2 separate regions of the Homo sapiens genome follow, and region 1 is linked to region 2. Evidence: promoter capture Hi-C in human tissues and cell types (Jung and others, 2019). All regions are on one chromosome and are shown on one strand. The core of a region is centred on a gene start or on the middle of the fragment in contact, and the rest is flanking DNA. Distances in the headings are between cores, read along the strand shown. Region 1 holds the start of LOC105371125 (a long non-coding RNA gene). Region 2 holds the start of DNAH3 (dynein axonemal heavy chain 3).

Evidence for each region. Contacts are between HindIII fragments. The study calls those that stand out against the background at their distance.
Region 1: a contact is called between a fragment that was not itself captured here and the fragment with the promoter of DNAH3 in region 2, in 4 of the 25 tissues and cell types used here (aorta, liver, lymphoblastoid cells and 1 more).

What each region holds. Positions count from the first base shown.
Region 1 is chr16:21,286,473-21,293,212 of GRCh38, reverse strand. It overlaps LOC105371125 (a long non-coding RNA gene), which reads right to left and starts at 2,743. Exons shown (of 3, transcript XR_950905.3): 1 at 2,711-2,743; 2 at 1,875-2,035. It also overlaps a transcript of CRYM not described here. The HindIII fragment of the contact is 3,703 bases long and covers 1-3,424 here.
Region 2 is chr16:21,147,333-21,154,967 of GRCh38, reverse strand. DNAH3 (dynein axonemal heavy chain 3) reads left to right here and starts at 4,122. Exons shown (of 62, transcript NM_001347886.2): 1 at 4,122-4,217; 2 at 4,434-4,678. The coding sequence starts at 4,649. RefSeq lists an enhancer at 1,666-1,960. The HindIII fragment of the contact is 16,051 bases long and covers 1-7,635 here.

The DNA.
Region 1 (6,740 bases), core at 324-2,823, 140 kb before region 2:
TTGCTAGGTATCAAATAATCACAAGCTTTTACAGGTTAGGGCCATGACCACTAATTGAAATGACTATCCTTTCTCATTTGAATTACTTTGGCACCTCATCTGAAATCAACTGACTATACATGTATGAATCTATTTTTGGACTCTGTATCTTATTCTATCTATCTATCTATCTATCTATCTATCTTCTATCTACTTACCTATCCATCTATTCATTCATCCATCCATCCGTTCATCCATCAATCCATCCATCCATCCATCCATGCATTTATCTTCTCTGTCTCTACTCATGCTAATACCACACTGTCTTAATTATCGTAGTTTTATAATAAGGTTTCAAATAAGTTGGTGCAAAGTCTTGCAATTAAAAAAGTATAGTTTGGGATAATAAAGTTCTTTTGAATCCAAAATCAATTGGCCATACATGTGTGAATCTATTTTTGAACTCTGTATCTTATTCTATCTATCTATCTATCCATCCATCCATCTGTCATCTATGTCTCTACTTATGTTAATACCACATTGTCTTAATTACTGTAGTTTTATAATAAGTTTTAAAATGAGTTGTCACAAAATCTTGCAATTAAGAAAATATATATTTTTGGATAATGAAGTTCTTTTGAATTTCCATATAAATTTTAGAATCAGCTAAATTTCTACCAAAAATAAAAAGCCTCTAGGATGTTGATTGAGATTGTTTTGAGCGTATAAATCAATTTGGGGACAATTGACAATTTAAAAATATTGAGTCTTCTGATCCATGAATAAGGTATATTTCTCCATTATCTCAAGTCATCTTTAATTTTTCTCAGCAATGTTTTCAGTCTTCAGTGTACAGGTACTGCACATCTTTTTTAAAATTTTCCCTAAATGTTTTATGTATTTCATGCTACCACAATGGTATTGCCTTGAAAATGATATTAGCAATAGATATTTCTAGATTTCCTTACTCAAAGTGAAGATGTTTCATTCTAGTCCTCCTTTGCTGAAAAGTCTCTTTTTTGGTAGATCATTCATTTTTATTGCTGAGGGTATTCCATTGTATGAATAATTCACAGTTTGATTACCCATTCACATGTTGATGGACATTGGGTTATTTTCAATTTTTGGCCTTTATAATTAAAGCTATTTATGAATGTTTGCATACAAGTGTTTCTATGTTCATATGCTTTCATTTCTCTTAAGTAAAACTTCTAGAAGAAGACATCCAATCAAGCTTTTGTGACTCTGTATTGGGCAAAGTTTTTTAGATATAGCACTAAAAGCACAATTCACTAAAAAATGATAAATTTAACTTCACCACAATTAAAAACGTTTGGTTCTTAAAAGATGCTTTGAAAAAAATAAAAGGCCATAGTCTGGGACAAAATATTTGCAAATGGCTTACTACACAAAGGGCTGATATTCAGAACGTACAAAGAATTCTCAAAACCCAATAGTAAGAAAAAAGACCAATTCAACAATAAATGAAAGAAAAGTTCACCGGTCACTTCACCAAAGATGATACACATGTGGCAAATAAGCACATGCAAAGATGTTGAGAAGTTTCATCATAAAAGGGTGTTAAATTTTTTCAAGTGCTTTCCCCTCTATTGAGATTAATGTATAATACAATATAGATACTAATCACAGAGATTCTTTCCCACAGAGAAAATGCATTATGCACATAAGCTTTGAATCTTAGTGCTATCTTGTACAAATTTTGTGGTGTTGAGCAAGTTTTTACATTGTGTAAGGTTTAGTTTTTTCAAAATGAGGATAACATATAACTTGAGTTATTGTCAAGATTCACAGTAATGTAGGTAGAATTATTCACATGTAATAAGTAATTGACTACCAGTAGCTCTGATGAGATTTGTAGAGCCTCAGATACTCACTTTCTGTACTGTAATTTATGGAGTTAGGAATACTTTTCAACAGGAACACAACATATTCACCTCTTGGATATCATAGTATTTGCTGATGCTCATCCCAAGGTTATAAATGGGTACCAGCAGGAATGAATCAAGCAGAAAGTTTTTAAAAGTATTATTCCAATCTGCAATGAAAAAGATAATGTTAGCATGCTTTATATGAAATGAACTGTCCCAGGATAACAAAAGTCTCCCAAGTTGATAAAATTAAACAGAGAAAATTAAAAGCTGTAACATTATTCTCACAAACCCTCCGTTTTTAGCATAAAGTATACTACCCCTGATTTCTTGAAACATAGTTTGTGTTGATAATTACAGCTTTGGAAAATCCTTTTGGGAAAGCTGATGTCCATATCATCTGTCTTCCTGTCATCTCATGCGAACAAGAAACCAATGCTGATTATTTCTCATACCGTTTATTTTATATAACCAATGAAAAAGCAAAGATGTGATAGGAAATGTAGCCTAGGACTCAACAGTGGAAAGAGGATAAGGAATATATCATCAGTTGAAAGGACATACATCCTCAGAGAAACAAACTTGATGCTGAGATTCCTCTAAATACTAAATTAAATATGTATAACAGTTTATGAATATATATGAGTAAATAAGAAACATGTTTAAGAGGTAAGGCTCTGAACTGTCACTGTAAGACTTCAAGACTGAGTTCAAATTACTGGAAAAAAAGATGAAATTATAAGTCTGAGCAAAAAGCATATTTGTAAGATGCTTTTGTGGCCAGAATTGGTTCCCTCCCGTGGGTTCTTGGTCTCGCTGACTTCAAGAAAGAAGCCACGGACCCTTGCGGTGAGTGTTACAATTCTTAAAGATGGTGTGTCCAGAGTTGTTCCTTCAGATGTTCAGATGTGTCCCGAGTTTCTTCCTTCCAGTGGGTTTGTGGTCTTGCTGACCTCAGGAGAGAAGCTGCAGACCTTTGTAGTGAGTGTTACAGCTCTTAAAGGTGGCACATCCAGGTTGTTTGTCCCTCCCGGTGGGTTCGTGGTCTCACTGACTTAAGGAATGAAGCCTACAACCTTCGTGGTTAGTGTTACAGTTCACAAAGGTAGTGTGGACCCAAACAGTGAGCAGCAGCAAGACTTATTGTGAACAGCAAAAGAAAAAAGTTCCCACAGCATGGAAGGGGATCCGACATTGCCACTGCTGGCTCTGGTGGCCAGCTTTTATTCCCTTATTTGGCCCCACCCACATCCTGCTGATTGGTCCATTTTACAGAACACTGATTGGTCCATTTTACAGAGTGCTGATTGGTCCATTTTACAGAGTGCTGATTGGTCCATTTTACAGAGTGCTGATTGGTCCATTTACAATCCTTTAGCTAGACACAGAGTGCTGATTGGTGCAATTTTACAGAGTGCTGATTGGTGTGTTTACAATCCTTTAGCTAGACACAAAAGTTCTCCAAGTCCCCACTCCACCCAGAAGCCCAGCTGGCAATCAGTACTCTGTAAAATGGACCAATCGGCACTCTGTAAATGGGCCAATCAGCGCTCTGTAAAATGGGCCAATCAGCAGGATGTGGGCAGGGCCAAATAAGGGAATAAAAGCCGGGCACCTGTGCCAGCAGCCCAGCTGGCTTCAACTCTCACTTTGACAGAAGAGAGGGTGTCACCTGAGTGAGGAGGTAGAGGGTAAGTTTGCACCTAATATGTAAATTCTTATGACATTCTTATGACAAAATGGTAGAAGTATGTCTTTCCCTATCAGTGATTACATTAAATATAAATAGATTACTGCTCCAATTAAAGGATAGAGATTGGCAGAATGGATTTTAACAAGCATGATCCAACCATATGCTACCTACAACAGATTCAATTTAAATTTAAAGGCACAAATAAAAGTTTAAAAGACAGAAAAATATATTCAATGCAAACGGTAACCAAAAGAGAGCTGGAATGATTCTACTAATGTCAGACAAAATAGGCTTTAAGATAAAAACGGTTATAAGAGATGAAGGACATTATATACTATTAAATGGGTTAATTCATGAAGAAGATACAACAGTAACAAACATATATGGTCCTAACAACACAGCCCTAAAATATATGAAGCAAAAACTGACAGATTTAAGGGCTTTCAACAATAGTAGTTGGAGATGTCAATACCCCACTTTAAATAATTATAGAACAACTACATTGATCAAACAAATATAAGATATGAACAACAAAATAAACCACCTGACCTAAAGGTATATATAAAATACTCTACCCAACAATAACAAAATACACATTTTTTTCTCAAGTGTACATAAAAAAATTATCCAGGACAGACCATTAATTAGGCCACAAAACAAGTCTTAATAAATTATAAAAAACTGAAATAATATGAAGCATCTTATTATGACTGCAATGGAACAAAATTAGAAATCAGTAACAGAAGGAAATCTGAAAATACACAAATATGTGTAAATTAGACAATACAAACTTAAGCAACAAATGAGTCAGATAAAAAATCATAAGGGAAATTAGAAAATACTTTGACATGAATGAAAACAAAAATATGGTATACCAAAACTTATAAGAAAAGCAGTTTAGTTTTTTCACATTTATTCTTACATTTAAAACTATTTCAAATAAATAATCTAGTCTTCCACCTTAAAAACTGGAAAAAGAAGAGCAAACCAAACCCAAAGCCGGTGGAAGGCAGGAAATAATAAAGACTAAAACAGAGATAAATAGAGAATGTAAAAACAACAGGCCAGGGAAAATATACAATCCCTTTAAAGAATCAACACAAATCAAAGACCTTTATATTGACTGACCAAAATAAGAAAGAAGCCTCAAATTATTAAAATCAGGAAACTAAGAGAAGACATTACTACCAATCTTACAAAAATTAAAAAACATTACAAGAGAATACTATGAACAAATGTAGGGCAATTGATAACCTAGATGAAAAGGACACAATTCATAACCTAGATGAAAAGGACACATTTCTAGAAACACACAAACTACAAAACTAACTCAAGAACAAGTAAAATATCTGAATAGACCTATAATAAGATATTTAATTAGTAACTAAAAACCTCTCAGCAAAGAAAAGGTTGGGATAAGATGGCTTCAATGGTGAATTCCACCAAACATCTAAAGAATAATTTACATTGGTCCTCCTGTTTGGTTTTTAAATAAACAACCAATTGTCCTATTCTCTGACACCCCAACTGGGTGTCCTACAATTGAATTCAATTCTAGCACTACAAAGTATTTTCGAATTTCCCTTGTGATTTTTTATTTGACTCATTTGTTGCTTAAGCTTATAAGTTAGCACAGACTCCATGGGTTAAAGAACCAATCCCACAAGATTGCACCCGCTTTAGACACAGCCACAAATAGGGAATACAGGGTACCTGCACTTCTGCCTGGATAACTACAAATGTTAGGACTCCCACAATTGTTCCTCTGGTTTGATAATGTGCTAAAAACAACTCACAGAACTAAGGAAAGTGCTACATTTACAATTACAGTTTATTACAAAAGAACAGGCAAATGAAGAAGTGCACAGGGCAAGGGGCATGGGACACAGAGCTTCTGTGCCCTCTCCAGTGTGCCACCCTCCCAGCACACCGATGGGTTCACCAACCCAGAAGCTCTCCAGATCTCATTGTTCAAGAGTTTGTATCAAGACTTCATTATGTAATCATGATTGGTTAAAGCAATGGCCTTTGGTGACTGAACTCAATCTCCTGTCTCCTTCCCTCCTGGAGATCAGGGGTGAGGATGTGGGCTGAAAGTTTCAATCCTCATCACATGGTTGATTCCTCTGGCAACCAGCACCTATCCTCAAGCTATCTAAGGGCCTTCCTGGGGTCACTTTATTAGCATAAACTCACGTATGGTCAAGTTTTGAATAAGAAAAGATATTCCATTCATTCCAGAAATTCCAAGGACTGTGGGAGCTCTGTGCCAGGAACAAGGGATGAAGACCAAATACATATTTCTGTTATATCATACCTTCTCAAACTCTACCAAAAAATAGGTCTTATGGTTGTTTGGAAAACAATTTCCTCTCTAACAAAGAGTAAAGGCTTTTCTATTTGAAATCTTTGAATTATCACTTTGAGTAAATGAATGACTATTATTTTACAGTGACCAGTGATTCTATTTTGATGAAGTGTTTTAAGCCTTTAGTATTTGACATACTTCCAAAAATCAAATTTCAAATTCTAAAATTAAGTATTTTCCTTTTTTTTTTTTTTGAGACGGAGTCTCGCTCTGTCGCCCAGGCTGGAGTGCAGTGGCGTGATCTTGGCTCACTGCAAACTCCGCCTCCTGGGTTCACGCCATTCTCCTGCCTCAGCCTCCCTAGTAGCTGGGACTACAGGCGCCCACCACCACGCCCAGCTAATTTTTTGTATTTTTAGTAGAGATGGGGTTTCACCGTGTTAGCCAGGATGGTCTCCATCTCCTGACCTCATGATCCACCCGCCTTGGCCTCCCAAAGTGCTGGGATTACAGGAGTGAGCCACTGCGCCCGGCCTAAAATTAAGTATCTTCCAAAAGGAACTCCTAGATGTCCAAGAGAGACATAGTAGGCTTATTTAATATGTTAAAATTATATAGGAAACACTGGCAAATAAGAAATGGTGCTTGACTTTCTTTGAGTCATATTTACATAAAAGTGTTATTAAAGTATGTTCCAAAATTGTAAGAAATTCCTACAATTCTGATATGTCTTGGTATATGTTATCGGTAATCATTACAATGATGTTAAATTGTATGCCACAGAAATAATCAAATATCCTTGTCAATTATGTCTTTAGGCTGGGTGCGGTGGCTCATGCCTGTAATTCCAGCAATTTGGGAGGCCGAGGCG
Region 2 (7,635 bases), core at 2,873-5,372:
AAAAAAAAAAAAAAAAGAAAGAAAGAAAAAGAAGATTGAGAAACTTGAAGCCTATATCCTTTCTTAAGAATTATCCAACACAAAGTTGTCAGACAACAAACAATTCTGGTACAGGTGAGGTGGCCTGGGGGAAGTCACTTTCACTCTCTTTGGCAGATACTTTATTTTCCACCTTTCCTCAGATTACATGTAGGTTTTCGGTTGAAGCCATGGAACAGATTTCATAACCAAGTTCAAGCTTTCCTGATGACCTAGCTGTGTGACTATGGGCAGGTTAGTTTAATGTATCAGTTTCCTCAATCATAAAACTTGTGAAAATACTGATATTTATATTCTAGGTTGTTGAGAAGATTCAAAGACATGATGTCTACTAAGTGCCTAGCAGCAGTCCCAGGGCATAGTATATGCTCAATAAGCGAAAGCCATTAGTATTGTTTTGATAGTTTTAAACACTAGTAGACTTAAAACACACTAAATTTCAGATGGTAGCATACCTCCTACTCACACACAGGCCATAGGGTCCATTAGCTCCACATCAGGACCATTCTAATTTTTTTTTTTTTGAGACAGAGTCTCGCTGTGTCACACAGGCTGGAGTGCAATGGTGTGATCTCAGCTTACTGCAACCTCCACCTCCTGTGTTCATGCAATTCTCCTGCCTCAGCAACCCAAGAAGCTGGGATTACTGGTGCCTGCCACCACGCCCGGCTAATTTTTTGTATTTTTAGTAGAGACGGGGTTTCACCATGTTGGCCAGGTTGGTCTTGAACCCCTGACCTCAGGCGATCCACTCGCCTTGGCCTCCCCAGCTGCTGGGATTATAGGCATGGGCCACCGCGCCTGGCCCCATTCTAATTTTTCACTTCATTGGATTACAGTTGCTGTTTTTGGTGGGACATGAGGTTTCACACCCAGTATAGGAGACCTGATAATCTTCCCATTTCCGTCTAAACCAGAGTCTCCAGCTCTCCCACTGTCTCAATTATTCCAAATGCTATTTGAAACCGTATGTATACTTTGTGATAAAGAGCATAATATAAGAGATGGAAAAGCTCAGGGTTATTTTGAAAGGATGGAAAGCCCAACTTTGAGGAAAAGGAGTAGAAAAAGGGGGAAAATGGAAGTACTTGGTTCTATTGTGTCTGGAATTCGTAGGTTCTTGGTCTCACTGACTTCAAGAATGAAGCCGTGGGCCCTCGCGGTGAGTGTTACAGCTCTTAAGGTAGCGCGTCTGGAGTTTGTTCCTTCTGATGCTCGGATGTGTTCGGAGTTTCTTCCTTCTGGTGGGTTTCTGGTCTCGCTGGCGCAGGAGTGAAGCTGCAGACCTTCACCGTGAGTGTTACAGCTATTAAGGCGGCATGAACCCAAACAGTGAAAGAACAAACCTTCCACGTTGTAGAAGGGGATCAAGCGGCTTGCCACTGCTGGCCCGGGCAGCCTGCTTTTATGCTCTTATCTGGCCCCACCCACATCCTGCTGATTGGTAGAGCCTAGTGGTCTGTTTTGACAGGGTGCTGATTGGTGCGTTTACAATCCCTGAGCTAGACACAAAGGTTCTCCAAGTCCCCACCAGATTAGCTAGACACAGAGTGTCCACACAAAGGTTCTCCAAGGCCCCACCAGAATAGCTAGATACAGAGTGTGGATTGGTGCATTCACAGACCCTGAGCTAGACACAGGGTGCTGATTGGTGTGTTTACAAACCTTGAGCTAGATACAGAGTGCTGATTGGTGTATTTACAATCCCCAAGCTAGACATAAAGGTTCTCCAAGGTCCCACCAGAGCAGCTAGATACAGAGTGTCGATTGGTGCATTCACAAACCCTGAGTTAGACTCAGGGTGCTGATTGGTGTATTTACAATCCCTGAGCTAGCCATAAAGGTTCTCCACGTCCCCATCAGACTCAGGAGCCCAGCTGGCTTCACCCAGTGGCTCCTGCACCGGGGCTGCAGGTGGAGCTGCCTGCCAGTCCCGCGCCGTGGGCCCGCACTCCTCAGCCCTTGGGTGGTCGGTGGGACTGGGCGCCGTGGAGCAGGGGGTGGCGCTCGTCGGGGAGGCTCGGGCAGCACAGGAGCCCACGGAGGGGGTGGGAGGCTCAGGCATGGCGGGCTGCAAGTCCCGAGCCCTGCCCCGCGGGAAGGCAGCTAAGGCCCGGTGAGAAATGGAGCGCAGCGCCGGTGGGCTAGCACTGCTGGGGGACCCAGTACACCCTCCGCAGCCGCTGGCCGGGGTGCTAAGCCCCTCATTGCCCGGGGCCGGCAGGGCCAGCTGGCTGCTCCCAGTGCGGGGCCCGCCAAGCCCACGCCCACCCGGAACTCCAGCTGGCCCGCAAGCGCCGTGCGCAGCCCGGGTTCCCGCTCGCGCCTCTCCCTCCACACCTGCCTGCAAGCTGAGGGAGCCGGCTTCGGCCTTGCCCAGCCCAGAAAGGAGCTCTCACAGTGCAGCGGTGGGCTGAAGGGCTCCTCAAGTGCCGCCAAAGTGGGAGCCCAGGCAGAGGAGGCGCCGAGAGCGAGCGAGGGCTGTGAGGACTGCCAGCACGCTGTCACCTCTCACTATGCAATGCTTTTCATAGGAACTCGGGAATGTTTGTGTTCTGGACAGGTAGGTTATGGAAAGAGCAGTGGACTCGGGGTCATCAGGACAGGTTCCAATTGTATCAGTGCTACTTATGAGTCAAGTCGACTTAGGAAAGTTATGTATCTCTCAGTTTTTTTGTTTGTTTTTCTTTTTTTTTGAGATGGAGTTTCGCTCTTGTTGCCCAGGCTGGGGTGCAGTGGCATGATCTGTGCTCACTGCAACCTCCCTCCCAGGTTCAAGCGATTCTCCTGCCTCAGCCCCCCAAGTAGCTGGGATTACAGGCGACTACCACCATGCCCGGCTAATTTTGTATTTTTAGTAGAGATGGGGTTTCACTATGTTGGCCAAGCTGGTCTCAAACTCCTGACCTCAAGTGATCCATCCACCTCAGCCTTTCAGAGTGCTGGGATTACAGGCATGAACCACCATACCTGGCCCATATCTCTCAGTTTTGATTCCTTATCCTTAAAATGGGAATATCGTGGTGTTTGGGGGGAAATTGAATGAAAAAAAAAGATATGCAAGCATGGCACCCCCAAAAAACTCATTAAGTCTAACTTGGTTTTGAGAGAACTTCACAGTGACCATGGAACATGTGCTTTTAATATTCGGGCGGCAGCTAATATTGTTACTTTTGAGTATGTGCACATGTATTTCTGTGTTTATCGTAATATTGATGTTAGCCACAACATTTATAGAGCATTGACTGTGTTGGGTGATCAAACTATCCCAGTTTGCCCAGGACTGAGATTGCTCCCAGGATGCAGGACTTAGTGTTAAAATGGGGAAAAACTGGGCTGGGCGCAGTGGCTCACACCTGTAATCCCACACTTTGGGAGGCCGAGGTGGGCGGATCACGAGGTCAGGAGATTGAGACCATCCTGGCTAACACGGTGAAACCCCGTCTCTACTAAAAATACAAAAAATTAGCTGGGCGCACTGGTGGGAGGCTGAGGCAGGAGAATGGTGTGAACCCGGGAGGCAGAGCTTGCAGTGAGCTGAGATCACGCCACTGCACTGCAGCCTGGGCAACAGAGCAAGACTCTGTCTCAAAAAAAAAAAAAAAAACGGGGAAAAACTGGGAAAATATCAGTTATCCTTCTACTATATGCAAATCGCTCTGTACACGTTATCCCGTTAACCCTTCAAAGCAACCCTATGAAGTAGGGACTCACATTATTGCCATTTTACAGACGGAAAGGACACTTGGAGAGATTAAACAACTTGCCAAGCCACACAGCTAATTAATGAGAAGAGTAGGATCTGAAGTATGACCTGTCCAATTGTAGATCCCAAGAACTTAACCACCATACTCTGTGCTTTTCGACGTCTCCAAAGGTCTTTTATTGCTGTTGCCTCTGTTATTCCTGGAACATTGCTAAACACCTTCCCATGTTCCCTTCTGTCACCAACACTTCCTGCTGCCCACCTGGGCCTCCAGCAAAGGGAGACACCAGCTCACAGAGCTAGGTCATGCCCAGTCTTGTATGTAGGCACCGCAGAGGCCCCTCCTTCCCTTAGCAACAGACGCTGAGACATGGTTACTGTGCCCAGCGCCTGCATACAAGCACTGCCAGTGTTAAGAGTCCAGGGAGGAGGAGGGAGAACAGTTCGGGCTGCCAGGATGTTGTTTGGAGGGGTGAGTCTCCCTCTTCTCTGTATTAATGTGTAACTCTGCTTCAGTCTTTCCTCTGCAGTGAACTCAGTGTGTTTCTGGAAAATTTCCAAGAGAGAAGCACTCAAGGGAAAGGAAGCGTGGCCACCGCTGGGGGACTAGGAACCAGAGCCAAAAGCGCAGCAGAAACCCAGTGCTGTCCCCTTATCTCTAGCTTCCCTTTCTCTCCTTTTTTACCAGGGAACTCCTCAGCGGGCCAAAGTCTATGACCTCAGAGAGGCAACCTCATGAACAGAGCTTTCAGAACATCTGGAAAGTTCCATTGTTGGTGTCATCCCCATTATGCTATAAGGAAGTGTGAATTTCAGACCAACTGGATAGGAGAGGCACATCCCTGGAGAAGCTGAAAGCTCTTTATTCATTTTAAAAAAATAGCTACAATTAGAGTGGACACCATGGGTGACATGGATTGCTCATCTCAGAAGGTAGGTGTGAATTTTAAGACGTTTCTTGTTTTACCTGTATTTTTTTTTTTTATTTTTTATTTTGAGACAGAGTTTTGCTCTTTGTTGCCCAGGCTGGAGTGCAATGGTGTGATCTCGGCTCACTGCAACCTCCGCCTCCTGGGTTCAAGTGATTCTCCTGCCTCAGCCTCCTGAGTAGCTGGGATTACAGGCATGTGCCACCACACCTGGCTAATTTTGTATTTTTAGTGGAGACAGGGTTTATCCATGTTGGTCAGGCTGGTCTTGAACTCCCGATCTCAGGAGATCCGCCTGCCTCAGCCTCCCAAAGTGCTGGGATTACAGGTGTGAGCCACCGTGTCTGGCCGATTTACCTGTATTTTTAATGTGTTGGGAATATGTGGGAAGAGGGCCAATTGGCATGTTAGATGCCCTTGACTGAACAAGTGTATTCATCACATTTTTTTGTTGTCTGCTTTGAAATATCATTTTTGCTGAATTAGACTTTTGGAAATCTTCAAGTTTTGCTGTGAAAAATCCGGGAATAGACACCCGTTCTTCCCTTTCCTTCCCTTCCAAGCCCATTAGACCATATATTCCAACCATCAGTTTTTGACTGTGGCTGAACATTAGAATATTCTGGGGAGCATCTTAAAAACATAGAGTCTTGGTCCCCCACTCCTAGATTCCGATCCAGAAGATTTGGAGTGGGGCCCTGGAATCTATATTTTTATCTAAGACCAGAGTGATTCTGGTGTAGCACGTCCTCAGACGAGCATTTGGGAATGGCCTCCATGAAGAACATACATACAACATGTGTAATCAGCAATAAGCTGCCCAAAGTGACAGTTCTACCCAATCTAAGTTCCAGAATTTCTGTTGTATCTGTGTTGAATCACCAGGTTGCCATACAGCGAAGTGCCCAGAGGAGCATTTTAAATAGAAACTTTGTAAAACTAAAGTGGATTTGTAGATAATAACTAAGCCAATATGCTCTGAAGTGAAAGCTCCTTGAAATTTACCAAAGAGAAGATTTAAGCATTAATTTCTTTCTTTCTTTTTCTTTCTTTCTTTTTTTTTTTTTGAGACAGTTTGTCTCTGTTATCCAGGCTGGAGTGCAGTGGCGTGATCTTCACTCACTGAAGCGTCTGCTTTCTGGGTTCAAGCGATTCTCCTGCCTCAGTCTCCTGAGTAGCTGGAACTACAGGTGTGCGCCACCGCCTGGCTAATTTTTGTATTTTTAGTAGAGACGGGATTTCTCCATGTTGGCCAGGCTGGTCTCGAACTCCTGGCCTCAAGTGATCCACCCGCCTCGGCCTCCCAAAGTGCTGGGATTATAGACATTAGCTACCACGGCTGGCCAAGCATTCATATTTTTAACAAACAATTTTGCACAACCAGCTAGTTCTTATGAGAATCTCGATCTCTTGAAGGTGCCACAGAGGATTCTTAGCCATTTATTGCCAGGAAAACTCTTTTAGCCCCATTCTGCAATTGATGCCTAGATCTGCTCATGTTGTGTGTGCCCCATGTGTTCCTGATCGACAGACTGGGATGCTTTCTGCTATCAGCGTACTTATGACTGTTTGTGTATTTGTTTTAGTCCAAGCCTATGACATAGCCTAGTTTAATTTGTTTCTACAGAGGTTCTCCCTCTTTCCATTGTGTTCTGCAAAATGCTCACGGTTTGCTTTCTTCATTATCCCGAGAACAGCGTCCCTGTCAGTTTGCATGATGCAGTAAGGAAGCTGAGGCAGGAGAATCGCTCGAACCTAGGGGGTGGAGGTTGCAGTTGTAGTGAGCCAAGATTGTGTCACTGCACTCCAGCCTGGGCGACAGAGCGAAAACTTGGACTCAAAAAAAAAAAATAAATAATAATAATAATAATAAATAAGTCACTGACTTAGAAGTCAAGCCGGCCAATTACATGGCTAGGATGTGTTACCTATCTTCTCACCCTCATTTTCTTCAGCTAGAATGCGGGTATGAAAAAAATCTCATGAGGTTGTACAGTACCTGGCACATAATCGTTTGGAATAATGGTAGATAGTATTGCTGCGGTTGTTGTTTTTCTGTTGTTATTTAATGAGGTAGGTGCTCCGGGAGAGATAATGATGGTTAATTTGAGTCATCTTTAAGGGGTTGGGGGCAGAGGGACAGCTAATAGTCATATGCCCCCTGCCCCATCCCACCCTCATCAGTGATCTTGCATGTCATAATTTGCACACCCAAATAAATCACACTGATACGATGTTGGCTCATCTTATATAGGAGTTAAGTCCAAAGTCAATGCCTAAGGTGAAAATCACAGAGAGTCAAAATTGCCCTTGAAAATCCCTCAAACCACCTTTAAAGTGCTGAACGGCAGCACCTCTCAATAAGTCCAGGCCAACAGCTTTTCTTCTAGTGTTGGAACAAGTTGCAGTTTCTCCATCACTAGTCCCAGGTGAAGTGGTTGTTTTGCATATAGGGGCTAAGTCTTAAGACAAAAACACATGTGATTTCATTCAATAATGTAGTCACTTTCTTCTCTGCTCAGGAGAGGTGGAGGGTCACTTGGAATCTGAGAGTGATTGTGGGAGCCACAAGTTGACCCTTACCTGAGGCTCACTCCACAGTATGCACTCACTGGTTGGAATGGAGTACTCAACACCCACATTGTTGAAATAACACTTTTTCTTTTCGCAGGAATCATAAAGAGTTGCTTATGTGTGTGTTAAATACACAGAAAATTCAGTGCCACTGCCTGAGTGAATTTCTCTTTGGAATTTTGCACATGTGAAAATGCAAGAGTCCACCTGGTGGAGTGGCTTATGCCTGTAATCCGAGCACTTTGGAAGGTCGAAGCAGGTGGATCACCTGAGGTCAGGAGTTCAAGACCAGCCTGACCAATGTGGTGAAACCCCGTCTCTACTAAAAATATGAAAATTAGCCAGGCATGGTGGTGGGCACCCATCCAGCTTCTTGGGAGGCTGAGG